Regions from separate parts of the Homo sapiens genome. Here all the other regions are linked to region 2. Evidence: promoter capture Hi-C in 16 types of primary human blood cells and fetal thymus (Javierre and others, 2016). All regions are on one chromosome and are shown on one strand. The core of a region is centred on a gene start or on the middle of the fragment in contact, and the rest is flanking DNA. Distances in the headings are between cores, read along the strand shown.

Region 1 (3,803 bases), core at 1,046-3,545, 290 kb after region 2:
TTATTTACCACTTGCTCAGGAGACTTAGCCGCAGGGATGCCTAGGTGCTTGGAGCTGCGGCTGAGGCCCCATATTACTTGGCCTTGGCAAAAGTAAGGCAGATATCCCATAATGTAGTCTGCTTGGGGCATAGGCTGGGGCCTGGCCCATGGGTCTTGCAGAGCCGCCGTCAATATGGTGCTGGGATGTTGGACCAGCGGGGGGGCAGGAGCATGGGCTTTGCCTGCCGCTGGGGTGTACTATGGGAGGGACGATGCAGACATGTTGCGGTGGATCCTTGATGTTACTAGCCCAGCAAAAGCGACCTGGTGAATTAGGAGCTTGGAGTTTTTCCGGGGAGGGGGACTTAGGCTGGGCCTGAGGGGAAGGGTTGGGTGTATTAGGAGGGGGACTAGGGGTATTAGGTGGAGGATGGTCTAGGGGATCCCATGTGCTGTTCTCTTTGCCAGGATCCCCCCTTCTCTCACTGGTTCTACAGTAGGGGCAGGTGCATAAGGGAAAAGGGAGGACAGGTCTTTGCTTCCAACAAAGAGCATAGTTCAGTTCTTCTTGAGAAACTGGGCTTTTATTACTTACATGTTGAATTAAAAGTTGATATAGTATATCCTTAGTCGACCCAAACTTTGGCCAGAAGATTGAGGGACTGAGGATAGGTCTTTGAGACCAAATAGAACAGCAATATTTTATCATTTGTTCCTTTGTCTTATGTTTAGTTCTCTTGTTATCTTTCCAACCTTTTAGCCTGAGACCTAAGGGGCTATCAGGTGGTATATCTTTGAGACCTTGGGGACTATCAGTGGTATATCTTTGTTGCTAACTTTATCTTTTTTGCTTGTATTATTTACCATACTGGGTCCTGGCTAGGCTCAATCCCTCGTATTAGGAATCTCTTGCCTAGTGGGGGCTTTCTGTGGCTCAACCCCTCATATTAGGGATCTCCTGCCTATTTGGGGGGTTCCTTCTGGCTCAACCCCTCGTATTAGGGGTCTCTTGCCTGTCCTTCACTGGAAGCTTTGCTAAGGCACAATTCGCCTATCCTTTAGCTCCACCTGCTGGAGATTCCTTGCACCCTTCTTTCACTGCAACCTTCACGCTCTGGCCGCTTCCCTTGAGGGAATGTTCCAGGTCACTTTTAGCATTCATGGGGGGTCAGTATAAACCCCTGACGGGACCCCCAAAGGGCCGCCCTAAGCCATATGAGATGACCACGGAACTGCAGATTGGTCTCACTCCGCACAGCAGTAGTGCTTGTTACCATTCATGCACTTTCAACCTCCAGAATGCCCCGACCCCCGCAAAACCACTAAAGAAGTAATTTGTTGCCCCTGCGACGTTTTCTACCTTGGTCTGTGCAGTTTACCTGGTCGCCGCAGTATTGCAAGTCTCTCTTCCCCGCGTTGCTGAGAGTCCAGGTTTATTCGTCACAACAGGTGGGTCTCGATCTCCCATCCCTGAGGGCCACCGCAACAGGGCAGTGGGAAGTGTCTCCCCTGGGTAGGGTGACTGAAGACCCCTTCCCGAAGGAGAATGGGAATCCCAGACGAGCCCCCAGAATTGTTGGATATAAAATGCTCTAGGATGAAATGCTCGGTGCCATGAAGTAAAACCAGCACTCAGGCAAAAGTTTAATTTCTCTCAGCAAGGTAATTTACTTCTGCGGAACGGTGCCACTTGTGTCAATCAAGATCACAAGAGCACAGAGAACAAAGGAGACCAGGGGATTTTTATCCTTAACACAGTCCCTATCTCTGTGTCACTCCCCCCATGGGCTGGGGTCAGACTGCACAATCTGAGCTGACCCAATTGGCCACTTGTACATATTTTCCTAACTATAGAAGGGGAGGGGGACATGAGTTACAGAGGTGGAGTGTGAGGCGTGCAGTTTCGGGGGAACAATGGGTACAGGTAACCAAGGGAACAGATGTGAATTATTGATTAAAGCTGACGAGAATGGGGTAGGCTGTTTACAGTAACTAGGGGTAAGGAAGAACAAGAAAGTTGAATTTGAGAACAAGGATAAGGAAGTTAGCAGGCTAAACCCTTTGAAGAGAGACTCAGATTTACTGCAGCTTACAATCTCTTCCTATGACTGCCTGGACCTGACAGTCCTCTTGCCGGACCAGATCTGTGTGGTATCTCGACAGTGCCTACATGGATTTTAATAGAAAATGAACACTTTTTTCTCCCTCTCATGTTTAAAGTAGATGTATGATCACTAATTTTTCCACTTTCATTTTTCTATGGGAGGAGTAACTTCGAGGTCTTGTGGAATGATGGTGTCCCACCCTTCCCCTGCCCAGCAACCCCTAAACACACACACATACACACACTTTCTATGGCTTTTAGCTCAGGCCATGGGAAAGGGGCAGCAATAGTGAGAGGTGACAACGTGTTAGCAGCCCTCGCTCACTCTCAGCGCCTCCCCGGCCTCAGCGTCCGCTCTGGCCACGCTTGAGGAGCCCTTTAGCCAGCCGCTGCACTGTGGGAGCCCCTCTCTGGGTTGGTCGAGGCCGGAGCCAGCTCCCTTGGCTGGCAGAGAGGTGTGGAGGGAGAGGCGCAGGTGGGAACCAGGGCTGCGCATGGGGCTCGCAGGCCAGCATGAGTTCCGGGTGGGCGCAGGCTCGGGGGCCCCCACACTCGGAGCGGCCGGCCGGCACCACAGGCCCCAGGCATTAAGGGGCTTAGCACCCGGGCCAGCAGCTGCAGAGGGTGCACCGGGTCCCCCAGCACTGACAGCCTGCCCACGCCGCACTTGAATTCTCACCGGGCCTCAGCCGCCTCCCCATGAGGCAGGGCTTGGGACCTGCGGCCTGCCATGCCCAAGCCACCCCCGACCGCCATGGGCTCGCATGCAGCCCGAGACTCCCCGACAGGCGCTGCCCGTCCCATCGACCGCCCAAGGGCTGAGGTGTGCAGGTGTGAGGCACAGGACTAGCAGGCAGCTCCACCCACAGCCCCAGTGCGGGATCCACTAGGGGAAGTCAGCTGGGCTCCTGAGTTGGGTGGGGTCTTGGAGAACTTTTGTCTAGCTGGAGGATTGTATATGCACCAAGCAGCACTCTCTGTCTAGCTCGGGGTTTGTGGATGCACCAATCAGCACTCTGTATCTAACTAACCTGGTGGGGACTTGGAAAACTTTTATGTCTAGCTAGAGGATTGTAAATGCACCAATCAGCACTCTGTGTCTAGCTCAAGGTTTGTAAACGCACCAATCAGTGCTCTGTGTCTAGCTAATCTAGCGGGGACTTGGAGAACTTGTGTCTAGCTAAAGGATTGTAAACGCACCAATCAGCACTGTGTCTAGCTAAAGGTTTGTAAACGCGTGTCTAGCTAATCTAGTGGGGACTTGGAAAATTTTTGTCTAGCTAGAGGCTTGTAAATGCACCAATCAGCACTCTGTGTCTAGCTCAGGGATTGTAAATGCACCAATCAGCACCCTGTCAAAACGGACCAATATGCTCTCTGTAAAATGGACCAATCAGCAGGATGTGGGTGGGGCCGGATAAGGGGATAAAAGCAGGCTACCCGAGCCAGCAGCGGCAAGCCACTCAGGTCCCCTTCCATGCTGTGGAAGCTTTGTTTTTTCACTCTTCACAATAAATCTTCCTGCTGGTCACTCTTTGGGTCCGCGCCGCCTTTAAGAGCTGTAACACTAACCGCAAAGGTCCGCAGCTTCACTCCTGAAACCAGCAAGACCACGAACCCACCGGAAGGAACTAACAACTCCAGATGCGCTGCCTTTAAGAGCCGTAACACTGCTAAGGTCTGCAGCTTCACTCCTAAGCGAGACCACAAACCCACCA
Region 2 (4,253 bases), core at 1-2,500:
AACCCTCTCTGATTCCCACAAACCCTGCTGACTTGACCCCATTGGCCCAGACCCCTGTTCCCTGCCACTGGATGAGGGCTCCTGCACTGCCTACACCCTGCGCTGGTACCATCGGGCTGTGACAGGCAGCACAGAGGCCTGTCACCCTTTTGTCTATGGTGGCTGTGGAGGGAATGCCAACCGTTTTGGGACCCGTGAGGCCTGCGAGCGCCGCTGCCCACCCCGGGTGGTCCAGAGCCAGGGGACAGGTATGGGCTGAGCCCCCACCGTGGGGAACTGGGCACTGAGCCTGCCTGGATCGGGTTCTGGGGGAGGAGTCCTTGGGCCAGGGTTCCAGGTCAGGGTCCTGGAGGAGACGCTCCCTCGCAGTAGGGGACCTGGGGCAGACGCCCAGACCAAAGAGCTGAATATAGAGCCCCAGCCGTGGAGCCCCCAGTAGGGTCCCCTTCCATGTTCCCTCCTTTAAAGACCTAAGTATGGACCCCTCTGAGGTCAGAGCCCCCACTTCCTGTTGTAGCCTCCGCTCCCTCCCCTTGGCGGTGCCTCTGCCTGAGCGTCTCCGGGGAAGGTCAGATGGCTGACGACCGTTTCCAACCTGTCCTCACCAGGTACTGCCCAGGACTGAGGCCCAGATAATGAGCTGAGATTCAGCATCCCCTGGAGGAGTCGGGGTCTCAGCAGAACCCCACTGTCCCTCCCCTTGGTGCTAGAGGCTTGTGTGCACGTGAGCGTGCGTGTGCACGTCCGTTATTTCAGTGACTTGGTCCCGTGGGTCTAGCCTTCCCCCCTGTGGACAAACCCCCATTGTGGCTCCTGCCACCCTGGCAGATGACTCACTGTGGGGGGGTGGCTGTGGGCAGTGAGCGGATGTGACTGGCGTCTGACCCGCCCCTTGACCCAAGCCTGTGATGACATGGTGCTGATTCTGGGGGGCATTAAAGCTGCTGTTTTAAAAGGCTCCTGTTGTGACTGTTTGGGAAGATGGGGGGTTTCAAGGGGGAAGGTTTTCCTTGGGGGGTTGGTATTATTCTGCATGGGTACAGAGTCCCTCTGCCCAGTCCTGGTCACTGTCTTGTGATTCTCAGTCCCCAACTTGTCCCCGGAAAAGAGTAGATAGGGTGGGGGCTAAGGACACCCCCGGGAGGGATGAGTCATAGGTGGGGGGCTGCCTCATGCCAGGAAGCATGTACCAGCTCCCACCCCAGGGGGCTGAGGGAGATAAATGGGCCCTGAAGCGGGGTAGAGGGTCAGACCACAGGACAGTAGTGCCTGGCCCCAGCCCCAGGCAGCCACAGCAGGCTGCCTTACCCCAGAAGCAGCTGGTGGCGGTAGGACTGGGTTGGGTCGGGATGGGAAGGGTCTTGGAGGTTGAGTGGATGTGGGGTTTGGCTTTATGGAGGGCTTGGACCCAGGGGACTCTGGGATCTCTGGCTGCTTTTCTGCCTCTGAGATCCGATTCCTGCCCTTCTGTTTCCTGGATCAGCTGCAAGCTCTCCTGCTGAGAACCGCCTGCCCTCCTGTGGACTCTGTGTTTCTGTCTGAATCTTTCTTTCCATCATGCTGTCTGTCTCTGGGATGGTTTCTGTCTGTCTTTTTCTTCTAGTCTCCATTTTGCTCTGCCTCCATCTCCTTCATCTCCCTCTCTTGCTGTCCCTCTGTCTCTGGATTTCTTTGTTTCTTTTTTTCTGTCTTGCTTTCTGCCTCTTTGTCTCATTCTGGCTCTCCTCTTGTCTCCCCTTCTCTGTCTCTGGCCTGGCCTGGCCTCTCTAACCCCTTTCTCGGTGTCTTCCTCTCTCTCCATCCCCCGCTCTGTCACTCTGCCCTTGCCATCTGTCTCTGTCCATGGACCCCAGTTGACCAGAGCCCCTGCCCTGAGCCCATTTTCTCCTTGCAGCCTGACCTCACGATGACCAGGTGTGCTCTGCTGTTGCTGATGGTCCTGATGTTGGGCAGAGTCCTGGTTGTCCCAGTGACCCCTATCCCAACCTTCCAGCTCCGCCCTCAGAATTCTCCCCAGACCACTCCCCGACCTGCGGCCTCAGAGAGCCCCTCAGCTGCTCCCACATGGCCGTGGGCTGCCCAGAGCCACTGCAGCCCCACCCGCCACCCTGGCTCGCGCATTGTCCTATCGCTGGATGTCCCCATCGGCCTCTTGCAGATCTTACTGGAGCAAGCCCGGGCCAGGGCTGCCAGGGAGCAGGCCACCACCAACGCCCGCATCCTGGCCCGTGTCGGCCACTGCTGAGCCTGAGAGAGGGGGTCACAGTGATAGGGCCACCCTGGATGGGAAGACCTGGAGGGCAGCCACACAGCTGGACGGATGCTGCCACATCTGGGCATACAGTGTCTGGACGCTGCCACATCTGGGCATACAGTGTCTGGACACTGCCACATGGAGCCACTGTCATGCAGGTCATATCAGATCTGAGTGCCCCACAGAGTCACAGTGTGTCTGGACAGCCTGGACATTGGACATTGCTAAGTTGGGTCACTGCCACATGGAGTCTTGCCATGCCTGTGTGCCCCACAGACCTAATATATGTCCGGACAGCTTGGATGCTGCCACGTAAGGTCACTGCTGTGGCGAGTCTTGCTATGTCTGGGTGCCCCATAGTCACAGAACACCTGGACACCGCCACATGCAGTCATCATCATGTTACTTTCAGGAGCCTCAACACGAGAGCTCAACACTGCCTCCGACCAGTCCCTCTGAGGCCCACAGGTCTGTCATCCCATAGGCCACCACACAGAGAAATGCTGGCTGAGGGTCACTTGCTTGCTCTGTGCCCCATGAGGCAGCACCTGCCCCAGATGGACGGGGCTGTGAGGGGTGTCTCCAGGCACAAAGGCCCGAACACAGGAAGCCTGTGACCATGGCAGCCTTGTCTTATGGGCGCATATGTGCGTGTGTGGCTGAGTCTCTGACAGCTGTGAGTGTGTGTGAGCAGGGTAAGGGTACGTGAGGGGTCTGAGAGGAGTGGGTGCTTGTCCCCCAAACCTGCATGAAGCAAGAACAACTCCTGGCCAGGCCCTGTCCTCCCCACGTACCCCTGCATCCCCAGCCTCGACCCAGGGACATGCAGGGCTCACAGGAGACAGGGCTCAGGCTGCCGGAGCTCCAACCAAACTCTGTCCCACTTCACGCACGGACTGTCCTGGGCAAAGGTGTTCACCTTTCCGAGCCTCGGTTTCCTTATCTGTAAAGCAAAGCGACACCAGCAAGCCTGTGAGCATTGTGTATATAGCAGACATGGAGGTCCTGCAGCAGGAGGTGCTCAATAAACACAAAGCGACTGAAGGATGGGACCAGCAAGCCTGTGAGCATTGTGTATGTAGCAGACATGGAGGTCCTGCAGCAGGAGGTGCTCAATAAACACAAAGCGACTGAAGGATGGGATGTGCGAGAATCCCAGTGGTGTGCACCCAGGCCGCGACACATGGTGGGTGAGTCATACCTGGCTTCTCTGCCTTCCTCCCTAGCTCCCCGGTTAACTGACCTGGTCCCTTGGTTTGGAAGGACTAGGTTTTGCCTGATTTCACAGCCCAACTCCATTGCTGGGCCAGAGACAGAACTGACTTTCCAGGCAGTGTGGACGGGCTTGCCCGCAGAGGGGGCAGGCACTCTGGGCTGTGCAGACAACTCTAGGTGGACATGAAGGCAGACGCTGGGTGGCATGGGCAGCTCTGGCGGGAGAGGGAGACTGTACTGGCCACAGCGTGGCCGGCTGACTGGAGTGGGGGCACTGGCGCTGCCCTCACAGTTGTAAGCAGCCCTGTGGGGGCGGGCCTACAGTGGGCTGGGGAGGCGGGGCTGCAGGAGCCGCAGGAGTCGCTTCTCTCTCTTCAGAGTGCTAGGCGGGGTTACCCCACTCTGGAGCTGCAGGGGGCAGTGGCCCTGGCCAGTTTGGTTGCAGGATGGACAGAGGCTCGTTAGGAGGCAGCTCCCTGACCGACCTGGGGCCGGGGAGCAGCAGGCGGGGTAGGCACGGGACAGCGTGGGGAGGGTGGAGGGTTAGGGAAAGACCTGGATGAAGTCAGGGTGGTGCTGGAGGGGTGCGAGAGTGTTGGGGGGTCTCTCCTGGTTTAGGGGTGCTCTGAGGGCCATTCATCTGTCAGTGGCCCGAAGGAGGGGGAAAACTGTCGCCCTGCAAGGGAGAGGGGGCTGGGCCAAGGGGGAACTATAAATAGTGTCTTCCTCCAGCCCAGGGGGAGGGACCGCCAGCTGGCGCTGCCCAGGCCCTCCTGCTCTGCTC
Region 3 (4,104 bases), core at 1,147-3,646, 320 kb after region 2:
CCAATTGAACTGGTCTTGGCACAGTAGGCAGAGACAAAGCCCACCACCCTCAAAGAGTGGATGGAAGGAGGCACAAGGGCTCCCACACAGGACAAACAGCTACATGCTGAACAATGGCTTGGCAAACTACACACAAGCCAAATCCAGCCTGCCACCTGTTGTTATACCACCCAAAGGCTAAGAATAGTCTTTACTTCAGAAAAAAAAAATTTTAACACAAAGATGAAGTCTCACTATGTTGCCCAGGCTGGTCTCAAACTTCTGGGCTCAAGTGATCCTAGCCTCAGCCTTCCAAAGTGCTGGGATTACAGGCGTGAGCCACCATGCTGGGCCAGTTTTTACATTTTTAATTGGCTGAAAAAAAAATCAGAAACAGAATATTTCATAATAATGAAAATTATATATGAAATTCAAATTTCCTTTTTTTTTTTTAGAGTCTCATTCTGTTACCCAAGCTGGAGTGCAGTCATGCGATCTCGGCTCACTGAAACCTCTGCCTCCAAGGTTCAAGCAATTCTTGCGCCTCAGCCTCAGAGTAGCTGGGATTACAGGTGTACGGCACCACACCCAGCTTATTTTATTTTATTTTATTTTTAAAGTAGAGATGGGGTGTTGCCATGTTGACCAGGCTGGTCTTGAACTCCTGGGCTCAAGAGATCCTCCTGCCTTGGCCTCCCAAAGTGCTGGGATTACAGGCGTGAGCCACTGCACTCAGCCAAAATTCAAATTTCAATGTCTATAAAGAAAGTTTTATTGGAACACGGCAATGCTCATTCGTTTACCTATGGTCTTTGGCTGCTTTCACACAACAGCAGACCACTAGTCGTAACAAAGACCGTGTGGCCTACAAAGCCTGAAACATTTACCACCTGGCCCTTAAAAGAAAACGTTTGCAAGACCAGGTGCAGTGGCTCACGCCTATAATCCTAGCACTTTGGGAGACCGAGGCGGGAGGATCCCTTGAGCCCAGGAGTTGGAGACCAGCCTGGGCAACATAGGGAGACCCTGTTTCTAAAAAAACCAAACAGAAAAAAATTTGCCCAGCCCTGTTCTAGACTGTTCCTGTTGTTACATCCAAAGTCATTTGGGGCCGGGTGTGGTAGCTCCCACCTGTAATCCCAACACTTTGGGAGGCCGAGGCAGGTGGATCATCTGGGGTCAGGAGTTCAAGACCGGCCTGGCCAACATGATGAAACCCCGCCTCTACTAAAAATACAAAAAAATAGCCGGGCGTGGTGGCGTGTCCCTGTAATTCCAGCCGCTTGGTAGGCTGAGGCAGGAGAATCGCTGGAACCTGGGAGAAAGAGGTTGCAGTGAGCAGAGATCGCCCACTGCACTCCAGCCTGGGCTACAGAGCAAGACTCTGTCTCCAAAAAAAAAGTCTTTTGGGCCGGGTGGGGTGGCTAACACCTGTAATCCCAACATTGTGGGAGGCCAAGGTGGGTGGATTGCTTGAGGCCAGGAGTTCGAGACCAGCCTGGCAAATATGGCGAAATCCCCTCTCTACTAAAAATACAACAGCCGGGGTGGTGAGGCGCCGCCTGTAATCCCAGCTACTCCGGAAGCTGAGGCACGAGAATCACTTGAGCCTGGGAAAGCGGAGGCTGCAGTGAGCCTAGATCCCGCCACTGCACTCCGGACCGACTCAAAAAATATAAAAATATAATATACTCCGGGCGCGGTGGCTCACGCCTGTAATCCCAGCACTTTGGGAGGCCGAGGTGGGCGGATCACGAGGTCTGGAGTTCAAAACCAGCCTGGCCAACATGGTGAAATCCCCGTCTCTACTAAAAATACAAAAATTAGCCAGGCGTGGTGGAGGGCGCCTGTAATCCCAGCTGCTCGGCAGGCTGAGGCAGAGAACTGCTTGAACCCGGGAGACGGAGATTGCAGTGAACGGAGATCGCGCCACTGCACTCCAGCCTGGGCGACAGAGCGAGACTCCGTCTCAAAATAAATATGATATAATATAATAATACAAAATGCTGTTCTTCAGTTGCACTCCACACATCTCAAATGCTCAGCAGCCATTTATGGCCAATGACTGCCGGAGTGCACAAGTGCAGGATGCCCGGTGAAGAGTCGTGGAGTGAGCACCGTGGAGACTGTACGGGACACCTAGGGAGGAACCTGGCCCCCCAGGGGAGTAAGAGCCGCTGTAGGGGTAGTCAGCGCCTCACACAGCTCGCACCCCACGCGCATCCCTGGTGGATACGGCCGACGCCTGCGCGGCGCCTGCGGCTGGAGCACCGAATGGGGGAGGCGATCTCGCGGCCCCGACTCACCTTCCGCAGTCCAGCCCAGTAGCTGCTCCCGCGGGGCCCACATCTGCGCGCGCACGCACGCACGAAGCAAACGAGGTAGCAGCACCGTGTGTGAAACGGATTAGAATGCGCACCGCGGGCCACTGGCGGCGCCAGAAGAAAGAAGCAGGACTGGGTGAAGTGCGTCACCGCGCGGCGCGCAGCCTGCCGGGAAGCGTAGTTCTCGGGGCGAAATGCGGCTTGTGCAGGGCGAGAGAAAATGCTGAGGCGCACTTTGACCTTCTAGGTCCCCCTCGGCCGCAATATTTGGGGTTGTGCTTACCACAGGTACCCATAAGCAAAATATAGTGTTGTTTTCCATGGTTGTAAACATTATATAAATACACTTACAATGCCTGCTACTAGCTCTTTTGCGCAGTTCTATAATGACACGTGTTGACCTGTTCATTGTGTGTTCACTGCTGTGTGGTATCTAATGTAGAAATACACCAGGACTCCAATTGGACAGACTCATGCGCATCCATGGAGAGCTTCTCAAGGACAGTGGTTCGCAAACTTGTTGTTGTTAAAATCCTTTTACACTCTTAAAAATTACTGAGGACCCCAAAGAGCTTTTGAAACCGCCTTTGCAAAATTATACCTAAGGAAATTATGATGTTATAGGAGTTATTAAGAAATTATTTTAAGCAGATAGAGAAGGAAAGGGGTCCTTGGGAAGTTTTTGTTTCTTTTAAAGCAGCTCCAGAAAGGTTTCTTGTCTAGCAGGAAAGCCTGGGCTCCTAGAGCAGGATGGCAAGCTTTGATATGGAAATACAGGCCATTAGAAACTGGACGCACCCAAACATGGCGATTCCCGCCGTCCTTTTCTTTGCCCTGACATGTGCCTGGCAACATGGCCACCCCCCACATATTCCCACGTGTGTAGAACTTCATGGAGCCCTACATTTGCATATTAAAAAGCTAGGGTGGGAGGGCCAGGTTTTTGGCTGCCACATAAATGACACATCTGATCAAACTAATCCCCTGAGCCCTATGGAAACCAGACACCGCCTCCTCCAGCATCCTCAGATAAGCAGCCACTTTTCCGCACACGGCGCTTTCTCTTTGTTGGAATCCCCGCTCCCTCTGTCTCTGTATGGGGGAGCTGTTTTCGTCTTCCTTCCTTCTTTCTTGCCTATTAAACTTTTCGCTCCTTAAAACCACTCCACGTGTGTCTGTGTTATTAAGCCTATCAGAGACCAAGGACCCTGGTGTTCCTCCAGTCATCAGAGCCTTATCAATGACAGTAAAAGATATCAGATCTAACCCACCTCATCTTCCTTTCAACCTCTAAACTGTCTTTGTCCACTTCTGGGCATAGGCCAAAGTAGCCTTGGGAAGGAATTCAGTTTATAGCTTAAATAATAGCCCTTCCCAAGGGCTAAACTGTTCTTGTAAAATGAATGAAAGGCCACCAGCCACCAAATTAGGATGAGAAGGGCTGGAATTCTAAATATTACCAGCCATTATTCCAGAGGCCCTAAGACGCACAACTTCCCCAATTACTCTTTTGAAGCACAACTTCCCCAATTACTCTTTTTTTTTTTTTAGGGAAAAGAACACGGAGTCTCACTCTGTCTACCATGCTGGAGTGCAGTGGTGCCATCTCGGCTCACTGCAACCTCCCTCTCCTGGGTTCAAGCGATTCTCCTGCCTCAACCTCCTGAGTAGCCGGGATTACAAGCACGCACCACCATACCCCGCTAATATTTTTGGATTCTTTTTTTTTTTGGTTGGTTTTTTTTTTTTTTTTTTTTTTTTTTTTGAGACGGAGTCTCGCTCTGTCGCCCAGGCCGGACTG

The links. Contacts are between HindIII fragments. The CHiCAGO score rates a contact against its expected background, and 5 or more counts as called.
Region 1: a fragment that was not itself captured here is called in contact with the fragment with the promoter of UCN2 in region 2 in 9 of 17 cell types (fetal thymus, naive CD4 T cells, naive CD8 T cells and 6 more); the score reaches 8.5 in fetal thymus.
Region 3: a contact is called between the fragment with the promoter of ZNF589 here and the fragment with the promoter of UCN2 in region 2, in 1 of 17 cell types (naive CD4 T cells). The highest score is 5.0, in naive CD4 T cells.

What each region holds. Positions count from the first base shown.
Region 1 is chr3:48,271,051-48,274,853 of GRCh38, reverse strand. No RefSeq gene overlaps it. Among named protein-coding and RNA genes, the nearest start is that of NME6, 28 kb to the left of the region's middle. The HindIII fragment of the contact is 2,563 bases long and covers 1,014-3,576 here.
Region 2 is chr3:48,560,778-48,565,030 of GRCh38, reverse strand. UCN2 (urocortin 2) reads left to right here and starts at 1,250. Exons shown (of 2, transcript NM_033199.4): 1 at 1,250-1,328; 2 at 1,895-3,313. The coding sequence starts at 1,907. The coding sequence ends at 2,245. It overlaps COL7A1 (collagen type VII alpha 1 chain), which reads left to right. Exons shown (of 119, transcript NM_000094.4): 118 at 51-248; 119 at 609-958. The coding sequence ends at 625. It also overlaps a transcript of PFKFB4 not described here. The HindIII fragment of the contact is 21,136 bases long and covers 1-4,253 here.
Region 3 is chr3:48,239,396-48,243,499 of GRCh38, reverse strand. ZNF589 (zinc finger protein 589) reads right to left here and starts at 2,396. Exons shown (of 4, transcript NM_016089.3): 1 at 2,286-2,396. The coding sequence starts at 2,328. RefSeq lists enhancers at 2,227-2,521, 1,712-2,629, 2,947-3,241. The HindIII fragment of the contact is 4,371 bases long and covers 1-3,063 here.